Regions from separate parts of the Homo sapiens genome. Here regions 1 and 3 are each linked to region 2. Evidence: promoter capture Hi-C in human tissues and cell types (Jung and others, 2019). All regions are on one chromosome and are shown on one strand. Each heading gives the region's core, a stretch centred on a gene start or on the middle of the fragment in contact. The rest is flanking DNA. Distances are from core to core; before and after follow the strand shown. Region 1 overlaps TTC29 (tetratricopeptide repeat domain 29). Region 2 holds the start of POU4F2 (POU class 4 homeobox 2). Region 3 overlaps TTC29 (tetratricopeptide repeat domain 29).

The links. The method cuts DNA at HindIII sites, captures the fragments that hold promoters and counts their contacts. A contact is called where the count stands out against the background at its distance.
Region 1: a contact is called between a fragment that was not itself captured here and the fragment with the promoter of POU4F2 in region 2, in 2 of the 25 tissues and cell types used here (aorta and lymphoblastoid cells).
Region 3: a fragment that was not itself captured here is called in contact with the fragment with the promoter of POU4F2 in region 2 in 3 of the 25 tissues and cell types used here (neural progenitor cells, ovary and thymus).

Annotation. Positions count from the first base shown.
Region 1 is chr4:146,765,515-146,769,476 of GRCh38, reverse strand. All of the region lies in intron 11 of TTC29 (tetratricopeptide repeat domain 29), which reads left to right. Among named protein-coding and RNA genes, the nearest start is that of POU4F2, 130 kb to the right of the region's middle. The HindIII fragment of the contact is 3,038 bases long and covers 1-2,889 here.
Region 2 is chr4:146,637,107-146,641,003 of GRCh38, reverse strand. It overlaps POU4F2 (POU class 4 homeobox 2), which reads right to left and starts at 2,111. Exons shown (of 2, transcript NM_004575.3): 1 at 1,576-2,111; 2 at 1-1,137. The coding sequence starts at 1,863. The coding sequence ends at 196. RefSeq lists enhancers at 1,431-2,012, 2,013-2,593, 2,594-3,175, 3,176-3,757. The HindIII fragment of the contact is 18,734 bases long and covers 1-3,897 here.
Region 3 is chr4:146,795,980-146,799,524 of GRCh38, reverse strand. All of the region lies in intron 11 of TTC29 (tetratricopeptide repeat domain 29), which reads left to right. Among named protein-coding and RNA genes, the nearest start is that of TTC29-AS1, 140 kb to the left of the region's middle. The HindIII fragment of the contact is 4,457 bases long and covers 1-3,495 here.

The sequences.
Region 1 (3,962 bases), core at 121-2,620, 130 kb before region 2:
AACCAATGGTAGATCCTTATACTACCTTTCACTAGCATATTTTTTGTAGTTATACTTAGTCAAATCCCATAATTGATAAAGTAAGAGAGAAACCATTTTTTAAAAAAATTCTAGAAATCAGGAAAATATTAAGCTTGAATATTAGATTTTTATCAGATATAGTATTTTTATTGCTGATAAGTCAGTGTTTGTCTAAAAGGAAAGTCAAAAATATTCGCAATCACTACAGCAAAAGATTGACATTTTAATGTCTTATGTGTTCAAAATTTCAACCACAAACACCGATACTAAGAATTTTATTCAAAATTCTGAGATTATAGGGCAATATGTAGTTTTTAAGGAAAGAAAGATTTGAAGTGGGGAGAAATGCTTGAAAGCAACCATTTTGTCGCTGAAAGTTAGGCATAGTTAATAGGTTAATTTCTGTTTATTGAATAAGAGAGCCCAATGCTGATTGATATAGTAATTTCAGTGTTTGCTATGGCAAATATTTAGCTCATTATCAGTTTTAATAGCATTTTGCAGAACAAGCCTTTTCTTGACATCTAGAAAATACTATTAAATTTCCCTGCATAGATACATTGTTATGACATGCAATAACTACTTGAATATAAAGGGGATTAATAATTTAAAAGGTGTTAACAAATTAGGGCCATCATTAAAAATAGACTTTGAACCATTTTGTAGCAAAATCAGATTGAGGTAATGCTCTGCTCTTATGATAAAGAATTACTGCATTAATTCTGCAAAGTGAACTTATTGCTCCTATTCGTCTCCAAAACCCTGGAGCATTAAAAGACAGGAAGAATGAAATGATCACTGCATTTTTTTTCAGGCACAACAGCTCTAATATTTCCATCACAGTTTCACAGCTCAGCCAGCCTAGTTGTGTTAATGGAGGGGAAAAAATCTCTTCAAAATTGTCATCTTTTTCTTTAATTTTGCTTTTAGACTGTCTTATAAATTTGAGCCAGATTTTCTCAGACAGTTTATAGTAATAAAGAGAGAATTATATTTAACTTGAGCAACTTCGGTTTTGACTACACAGCTTAATACTGTTTTGCTTCTGACTTTTCAAAATGTAATCCATGAGTATGTTGATGATCTTATTTCCACATTTGTTACCTACTGATGGTTGGAGTTAATTTAGCTGATGGGGATAGCTAAGCAGGGTCCCCTTCCTCATCGACTGCTCTATGGACATCCCTCCTAAAACTAAGCACTTGTCAGTACACAGGACAACCTCACAGAAATTGTTACTTGGTCAAGAGAAAATGATGGCTACACTCTCCTATTTGAATCTTCAAACTTAATACTCAATTTTCTTTACTTTCTCTTCTTTCCTCTAAAAAAATTACATATCATAACACATTTTGAAATGCTATTTTACTTCCTGACAAATAAATTCCCTGCACAACTATTGATATAAACTGGAAAGAAAATGAAAATTGGTGTAGGAATTGCAGCTATAATATATATGTTCATAGAATCATGGAATATTAAAATGAAAATGGACCTAGAAGATCACCTTATCCAACCCTTGAATTTTAAAGGTAAGGAAGCTGAAGCCCAGGTATGTTAAATAGATGGTTTTCAACACACAAAGTTATGAGTGACAAGGGGGACCTCTCCATTTTTATTTTTGCAATAGCAGACATTATTCAGGTCTGAAATTCCCCTATTTTACAATATGAGCTGAGCATTTTATTGATTACAACTGTGAAGTAGAACAAATACTGCACATAGATGTAGCTGACCTAGAGCTTGACTCGCAAATTATGCATGTATCCTTGAGAAACTTACTTGAGCTCTTGTTAGTGTTAGTTTACTTATCCACTAAATATAGACAATAATATCCTACTTCAGGTATGTTATGTGAATTAACAGAGTACATATATGCCAAACAGCAACCTATAGATCTTTATACAAATATAAGTTATTATCATTTAGAAGAAATGTGCGCTTCCACTAAATTAAGGCATTTTGTTATCTGGGAGGGGAATTATTAGTTAGCTAACACATTAACAAGGCCCTGAAGCAATGGGACAAAACAATAAGTTTTCATTTGGGGGAGAAGAAAGGTAGGGAAAGATCTAAGGCATTGACAATTAGAACAGAACAGTGAGAGACCCAGAGCAGTTGTCAAAAACATCATTAAAAAATGGCTGCATTTTACGGTTGAGAAAATGAAAGCTTGGAGAGGTTAAGCAATTTGACCCCAGTGAACCAGGCAGAAGATGGTAGAACCAGGACTAAAACCAGGGCTCTCTGATTCTAGCTATCAGATATGATTAACTACAAGGGGAATGATTTAAAGTATCATAAATAGGATGAAATCTTTGCACTAAGATCATAAAAGAACATTCTTTTCTCATGTCAAATGCTAGAAGTGACATGTGTTACGAAGGAAACCTAGGGAAGCTCCAGTGGAATCTATAATACCAAGTTGCTAAAGCAATAGCTAAATGATGAATAAATGTTTTGTCTACAGGATGATTTCATGAATTATTCTAAAAGAATTCCAATTGGAATTTGTCAATTATCTTTTTTTTATCTTAAACAATTAATTTAAGGACTGGACAACTTCTAAATGTCTATCTCTAATAATATCAATTGCCCACTACCTAACTACTTCTTCCCAATTCACAATCCCTGTTACAAGCCCTTCTAACCTACCTAGGGGCTGCATTTTCTTTTTGGGTTGTAAGTTGATTGAGAAAAAATTATTTAACAATTTACTGAATCTTGTAGCTTCATACTTTGCCAAAGATCTTATAAAACCTAACACTAAAGTACATCTATACATAATGTCATTTAACCCAGTTTTGAAAATCACTGCAATGTAATTTAGCAATAATGAGACTAATAGCTTTATCACAAACCCACTTCTAAAAAATACTAATTCATTTTTTAATTTTTTTATCAGACAGGTTGTCCATATGCAAGAAATACATTATTTAAATAATTATTTAGAAATATTTAACCCTACCTATCCCTGCAAGACAATAAAGCTGCTTTCACCCATCAATGCTTTAAGAATGTCAGAAAGAACTATAAAAGTTATATTTGAGAGTACCAATTGGTGTAGAAGTAGAGAAGAAGAAACAGCTATGAAAATCATAACAAATGAAAAGAAGAATTTGTTCTGTGGTACTTGCCAACACAAAGACCATGTTTACACATAATGATCTCCTGTTCAGAAGCATCTTCTCTCATGTGCCAAAACTATTTGCTAACATACACGTTGCTCCTCTGCTTGGGGTTCCATAATTAGGTACTTCTTTAAGTTAACAGTTTTAAATGCAAACACCCATACAATGGTCATGGCCATTCATACACTAGAATATATTGGCTTAGTCTGATTGTTTTCTTTAGCTGAGCACAGTTGAACTAAGACACTGTGAATCCGAGTAAATAATACTTTGACTCAAGACCTCTCTGCTTCCCAGATTTACTTCATTTCTGAAGCCCCTAACTTACCTTTAGTGTTTTGCTCTCCTTGAGAATCCAGCTACCTGACCTGCATATGTGTTTATGGCAGAGGCCATATATTCCGAACAACAGTCCCCTCTAGAGAGTTGAAGCTTTAAAAACATTTCTGTCAATGTTATTGACAGTTGATTTATATCCTTTGAATTTGCACTCCCAGACCAAGTTCCTTTAAAAAAAAATCAGTCATAGAGTATCATCATCATTTAAAATGGTAAAATTGGGCAAATGCCCAGGTCTGTCTGTCTTATGAAGGCTGCTTGTCTAATCCATTCACTCCGTTTGGGGCCACATTACAACCCAAATCAAGTGGGAGTGTTATTGCTTAAGTAGAAACAAGAAATACCTTGTTATCACTGAAGGATCACGTACTTAGTATGCAGAGATGCTTTCAGGAAGAAATTACAGACGATATTCTCATTTTTGTAGGTAAGATAAAAATTAGGGTTTTAGTTCCAAACTTAGCCCATTAG
Region 2 (3,897 bases), core at 862-3,361:
CCTTTGAGAAACTGTTTCACATTCTCACCGGCTTGGGCTCAGTTGTTCGCTCGTTCGCTCCCTCTTCAGTCCTCGATTTGTCGAGATTCACATTTACTGGAATTGTTTCTAGTCGCCAAAAGTGAAAAGAGGCAGAAGAGAGGAGAGAAAAGAGCGGACGAGGAAAGGGGCGTCTCTGGAGAGGCCAAGAGTCTTCTAAATGCCGGCGGAATATTTCATTCTTTTCTGTTTCTGCCTCTGGTTGCAGAACCAGACGCGCACCACGTTTTTCTTCAGGTCCAGCTTCTCCGCGATGGCGGCGATCTTTTCAGAGGAGGGCCGAGGCTGAATGGCAAAGTAGGCTTCGAGCGAGCGCTTCTCTGGCGCAGCGATGGACGTGCGCTTGCGCTTCTTCTCCGCGCCATTGAAGAGTTCAGGCTTGGTGAGCTTCTCGCGGTGGGACTTCTCGGCCTCCTCGAGCCATGCCTGCAGGATGGGTTTGAGCGCGATCATATTATTGTGGGACAGTGTGAGGGACTCGAACCTGCAGATGGTGCTCTGGCTAAGCGAGCCCACGCCGGGGATCTTGAGGTTGGCCAGCGCGGAGCCCACATCTGCCTGGGTCACCCCCAGCTTGATGCGTCGCTGCTTGAAGCGCTCGGCGAATGCCTCCAGGTCCCGCGGGTCGGCGTCCACGTCGCTCATGCAGCCCATGTGCGACGGCAGCCCGTGCGCGTGGGCCATGCTGAGCGCTGCTTGGTGCATGGGGTTCATGGTGGCCATGTGCGGCGCGTGAGCCGGCGTGGACACCACAGCGCCGTCGGGGCCCGCCATAGCGCCCAGGGCCAGCCCGGGACTCAGGTGCTCCAGCAGCTCGCCCTCCAGCGCCTGGTGCGGTTGGTGGTGGTGGTGGTGGTGATGGTGGTGGTGGTGGTGCGTGCCCGCCAACGCGGAAGGGTGCGAGATGGGCACCGATGAAGAAGAGGCGGCCGACGTGCACGGGATGGTATTCATAGTGTGGTAGGTGGCGTCCGGTTTGAAGGGGCTGTGGTGGGGTGGATGGTGGTGGTGGCTCTTGCTCTGGGAGACGATGTCCACGGCTGCCAGAGCCTCGGCGCGGGCCAGCAGACTCTCATCCAGCCCGCCGAATATATTGCTCTGCAATTGTAAGTAGAAGGCACACATTACGCTCAGCAGGGAATTGTACGCCCTCTCTCCGGAAGCCCCGGCCCAGGGCTCGACACCGTCGCCGCGCCTACAACATTCCCAGATCGTTAAAATAATAATAATAATAATCCTGAAAACAGAGGTGAAGAGAAAAAGAGGGAAGCCACAGAAAGAAGCCGAGAGTGCAGGAGGAGGAGGAAAGTGAGCCTGTAGACACAACGAAACACAACACAACACGCGCACAGGCAACATCCCAGGTCATAAAAATTAATATGAAAGGCAAGACCTGCTGAATACTTAAGAGAGAGAGAGGGGAAAATTGGTTGGAGGTGTGGGGTGATTTGCTGTGCAGACATGAAAAAAACATCAAGCAGATAAAGGGGGCTGTCAAAATGTGCCTTTAAGCGGTGATTATGCAGAAATACGCACCGGTGGGGTTGGAAGACAGGCTCTCCGCATAGCCTCCGAGCCCCCGCCGCCGCTGCTGCCACTGCTGCTGGAGCTGCTGCTTCGGCCTCCGCCGCCGCCGCCGCCGCCGCCGCCGCCGCCGCCACCACCAGCGTTGCTCGAGCTGCTGGGGGAGCTGGCCGAGGGCGCGATGGGAGCCGAGGAGCCCGGCGAGGTGCTGTGCAGTGCCGAGTACTTGGGCTCCACGTGCAGGCTGCCGCCGTGCGGCATGCTAAACGCCTGCTTGCTGTTCAGGGACATCATCATCATCTTCCCGCCCGCCGGGGCGCTGGTCCGTAGAGGCACTCACTGGTCCCGGCTGCCGGGACCCTCCGAGAAGTGCCGGGCCAGCCGGGGCTGGAGCTGGGAAGGGCTGTGCGAAGTTGAGCTCACCCGCCGCCGCCTCCGGACTCTGTACGCCTGATCTCGGCTACGCGCTCCTTCGCCGCCTCTGCTGTCAGTCTGAACGGATGCCTGACTCCGCTTGCCGCTAGCTGCAGACCTCGGCACCCGAAACTGCCCCCGCTCCTCGCGGCCGGCGAGTTATACTCCCCTCTCCCCGCGCCTACCCCCGCGCCCCCCGCCCTCCCTCTCTCCCTCTCTCCCGCGCGCCTCCGCCCTCCCTTGCCAGGAAACGCCGGCTCCTGTTCGGTTTCTCGCGTTGCCCCTTCTTCCTCTCTACTCCCCTCAGGCTTGAGTCCTTTCTGCTCTCTCAGCACTCGCCTCGCGCTCCCCCACCGCGCCCTCCGCCGCCTCTTTTCTGCCCCCGCCCGTGCTCTGTTGCCGCCGCCCCTTCGCAGCGTCCCGCGGCTGCTACTCACAATCGCGCCCCCACTCAACCCCACCCAAATGGCCAGGTCCGCGCTCCAGTCGCCGGGCAGTGCCTACCTAAGGACCAGCCTCCAGCCCCTCCCGCTTCTTCTGCCGGGTCTCTGTCTCACCGGAAAAAGAAACTCCCAAATAAAGTTGCGGCCCAAGCCAGCGTTGGGTAGGTAAGAGTGCCTCTTACCTGGCTGCCACCTCCTACGCCTCCTGCTTACCACTAAGTTCCAGGCTTCCAACCCCACTCGGCCCGCCCCCACCCCGTCAGCTCAGGTGACCCTGATCCCAGGTTCCCGGCCACCGCTGAGAACACAGACGTTGCGGCCAACCCGGGTTCTGCGCGCGGCTCTGAACTCCCAGCCCAATACGAGCGGAGGTCGGCGTTCGGCTACGAGCCCCCCACGGCCCGGCGGGTGCCTGGTGCCAAAGAGACATGGGGTCGGAGGGGCTGCAGGGCTTTCTCTCACTCGATTTCTCGCAGCTCTCAGCGGATTGGACAGCCGCGGAGCAGGCTCGGGTCGTCTGTGCGCATGCGACTCCTCCCCCTCCCCGCTGTCCCCACCCCTCCCACAACACACACACACATACACACAGGCACACACACACGCTCCTCTTGCCCCCCTTTTCTCTTCCTCCTCCTCCCTGTATCCAGTACAGTTCGAGTTGAGTCTTGGAAGGATCCACTGGCAAACCCTGCCCCTGGATTTATTATTCTTCATTAGCCACAATCAAAGGAAGAAGGGGCAACTGACAGGGAGAGGGAAGGTCAGAAATTACACAGCGCATATGCTGCTGAATACACCCCACAACACAGACACACACACACACACCCTCGGGGGCTGGCACAAACCTCACTTATCTTCATTTCCACAGCCTCTCGGTGCGGAGCCTATTTTTAGCTGACACTTCACTCCCACTTCTGTCCCAGTCCCAGTGCAGACCACTTTTCCTAGAGATGGACACACACTCTTGGTTCCAGTTGCAAAAGGAGATAATCTCTTTCTATCTATCTCTCTCTCTCTGTCACACACACACACACACACACACACACACACACACACTACTTCCTCTCCTTCTGGATCCCATTTTCTCTATACTTCCCGCGGTGTTGGGGGCTGCTGTCACCTCCCTAGAGAGCGGAAGGAGCAGGGTGCAGGCGAGGGTGAGAAGGCCCCGGGACCCCGACGCAGGAACCCGCGGGTGGCCCAATCCGGACGGGGGTTGACCGGGAGCAGGTGCAGGCACTGGGCGCCTGGGGAAGGCGAGCAGGTGCGAGAGCAGGCGGCAGGCCTGAGAGGCGCTGGCGCGCGCTGGGACAAAAACAGAGTGGGAAGGAGAGTGGAAAAGGGGAACCCTCGGGTGGTCAGCTCCCGGAAGCGGCGGTGGAGAGTAGGGGACCGCCTGTCCACCCCTGACCTCAGCCGGGCGGAATAGCGGTTTCAAGATGGGACCGCTGTCCTCAGGAGCCGCCAGAGTGCTGGG
Region 3 (3,545 bases), core at 18-2,517, 160 kb before region 2:
GAATGATCAAAACCATGACTTTGTCTCACAGCCCTTGGTTTATGTTGGCTTAATGTGGGTCCCTGGGCTTAATATTGAGTCATGTTTTTGTAACCTGTTCCTTGCTTGTATTTTTCATTCATGAACTCAACCCTTTAAAAAAAATGAAAAAAAATCACACTCACTAGTGATCCTCAGCTTTTATTACAATCAGCTACTTCTGTTGGTTATTAACTTTAATAATGAGGAGGAGGTCATGGAATTAGCCAAAAAGTCAGCAAGCAAGTAGGTTTCATCCATCTTATAATCACAGAGGAACTCTCTGTCTTTAATAATGTTTTCATAACCAACACAAAGAAAAAGAAGAATCTGGTGAAAAATATGACTGAATCAAAGCTCACCTACTGGCAGCTTGGTGTCATTCAGAGAGGCTACTAGTCAAGAGTCCAGTGATCTGAGCTCTAACATCATATTGAGCACTAATTAGCTTTGTGACTTTCAGCAAAAGATTTCATTTTGTGTCCTTAACCTGTTACCTGAGGTTCAAAATATATGTCGACAAGATTCCTCTGGAACTGACCATGATTTCTCAGTAAGAGCATCTTTCTCACTAAATATGGTATTTTGTAGTCTTTTTTTTTTTTTTTTTTTTTTTTTTTGAGACGGAGTCTGGCTCTGTCACCCAGGCTAGAGTGCAGCGGTGCAATCTCGGCTCATTACAAGCTCCGTCTCCCAGGTTCATGCCATTCTCCTGCCTCAGCCTCCCGAGTAGCTGGGACTACAGGTGCCCGCCCCAATACCTGGCTAATTTTTTCTATTTTTAGTAGAGACGGGGTTTCACTGTGTTACCCAGGATGGTCTCAATCTGACCTCGTGATCCACCTGCCTCGGCCTCCCAAAGTGCTGGGATTACAGGCATGAGCCACCATGCCTAGCCCGGCCAGTATTTTGTAGTCTTTAAGAGTACAATCTAGATGTTCATGAGCATTTTATTTGTTGTTTTTCTCCCCACAAACATCGGCTTCTGTGAGTTTCCACAAAAGGAAACTTATTATTATCATTATTTTTATTATATATTAAACAACTATAGGAAGACCAAGTGTATTTGATCCTTCTGCTAGAATTTATAATAAAAGTTTTACTTTTCCCTGGTTGGCACTCTTGAGGCTGCTAATCTTAGTGAACTATTTTATCTGAAGACTTTAATTCATCCTCCTGTATCCAATCCTGTGTCTTACTTCCCCTTAGCATTTCCTCAACCCTACCCTATCCCCCGCTGTTCCTGGGGCTCCTGATTTCTGAATATTCCTGCTTTTCTCCTCATGATTATTCCTCTTCATATACTTTACTTTGTGGCTACCTCTTCCCTCCTAAATCTGATGCCACTCCTATATCCTATAGTCCATATGTTCAAGTAGGTAGTAGGAACTTAAAGAGTCATGGAATAAAATGTCCAAGATGAAAAATAAATTGAATGGGATTAGCAGCAGATTACACAATGCAAAGGAAAAGGTTAGTGAACTTGAAGACATAGCAATAGAAACTATTCACAATGAAATACTGTGAAAAAATACTGAAAAAAAAATTGAACAGAGAATGTCAGAGAACTGTGGGTCAACTTCAAGAAGCCTAATATATGATTGAATTGGAGGCCCCAAAGGAGAGGGAAAAGAAGAGAGAACGAATATATATATATATATATATATATATATAAAACAAAGTAATCAGTGGCCAGTTGTTTTACAAATTTGATTTAAGAAAAACCACAAACTGGAATTTAAGAAGCCCAGTAAACTGTAAGCAAAAGAAACATGAAGAAACTAAATGGAGGCATACCATAGTCAGTGCTTGAAATCAGTGATAAAAAGAAATATGTTAAAGCAGCCAGGGTGAGGTGGGAGAGGAAGGACACTACATACAGAGACAGGACAAACAAAAAAAACCAGAAAGATCTTTGTAAAAAATACAGTTCAGAAGAAGATATTTAAAGTACTGAAATAAAAAAAAATAAGCATCAAACCTAGAATTGTATACTCAGTGAAAATATCTTTCAAAACCATAGGCAAAATAAAGCTTTTGCCAACCATATAAAAGCTGAGAGAATTAATCACTAAACATCAGTACAAGAAATGTTACAGTCCTACACACTGAAGGAAAAGGGATTCATTTTGAAATCTGCATCTGTGCAAAGAAATGAAGAACATGAAAATTAGAAATATGTCAGTAAAAATAATTTTTCTTTTTAAATTTGCTTTAAAAATAATTGGTTAATGCAAACAAATAATAACGCATTGTAGGGTTTATAACAAATGTGAAAGTAAATGTAAATTAAATGGAGAAATCTGATTTTGTAGAGGCACCTTCAGTTTCCACCAGGCAGACAACTGCCAGCCTGGGGTCCACCATAGCTCAATATTTGAACTGAATGTTGTCAGTGCTCATCAGTCTCTTCTTTGGGAACTCACTGTTTTAGCATCCATATCTCATTGCCTAGTTGTTGGGTTCCTCTAAAAGGGATTTGTTTTTAATTTTGACCTTTTTTTTTCTTAGATTACACAAACTTTACCTGGCTAAGGGTGGGTGATATATTTTGATACTGGGTATTTTGGGGCCCCAGATCATCACAGCCTACTGCACAAAGGGGCCTTCTAATGTCAGCTTTGTGGATTCTGATGGCTTTCTATTTGCTATGAGAAATTGTTTCAGACTCATGGCATACATCTTTGCATCCAGACCTGGAATCTACCATTTCTACAAGGAGCCCCAACAAAAGAAATTTTTGAAAAAGCAAAAGTAACTTCTAAAAATCTAAAAATAAATAAACAGATAAAGCCAATGACCCTAAATATGTATCCAGTTGGTGATATAATCACACAGGAAGGAAAAATTCCAGATGGCTTTAAAACAGAGAAATTTGACCATACATCTCTAATGGATTATATCCTAAAAAATGCCTCCCACCCAAAAAATCTAAAATTTTTTTTCAGTAGTCATGTTATTGGTGTTGATGTTGACATTATTATTATGATGTGTGTTTTAGAAGACATTAAATGGATAATTACTAAATATACTAAGTATTTTATTCAGTGTCCCTATGGACAAAAATTCTCACCTTGTGTAAGTTTCTCATTTGAAAATTGGGGTGCAACAGAGGTGATTAGACTACATGATCTCTCTGAATTCCTTTTTTTGTTCTTTAAATCTATGATTCCTAGCTTTCTGAGAAAATTCTTATGCTTTTAAGTTTTATTTTACTCTAATTGAATTTAAGATAATCCTAAAAACTAATGAAATTATTATGGGTTTTTAAAACATCATTCTCCCTGATATGGTTTTCAACACTTCTTTTAGATTCTGCTCACAGTTCTTGGTAGCTGGTGGTGTTACCAGTTTTAACTTTCCAATCTACACTGAACTCATCATCACTTGTAAGAAAAATGTAGCTGGGTTTCTCTAATCTGATTTTATTTCAACTTTGTCTTTAATTGCTAGTTTGAGGAGCTTATGAAAAGTTTTCAGTTAAACCATAGCAAAACGAGAGTGAATCAGTAGAAAGGAAGAGTTGG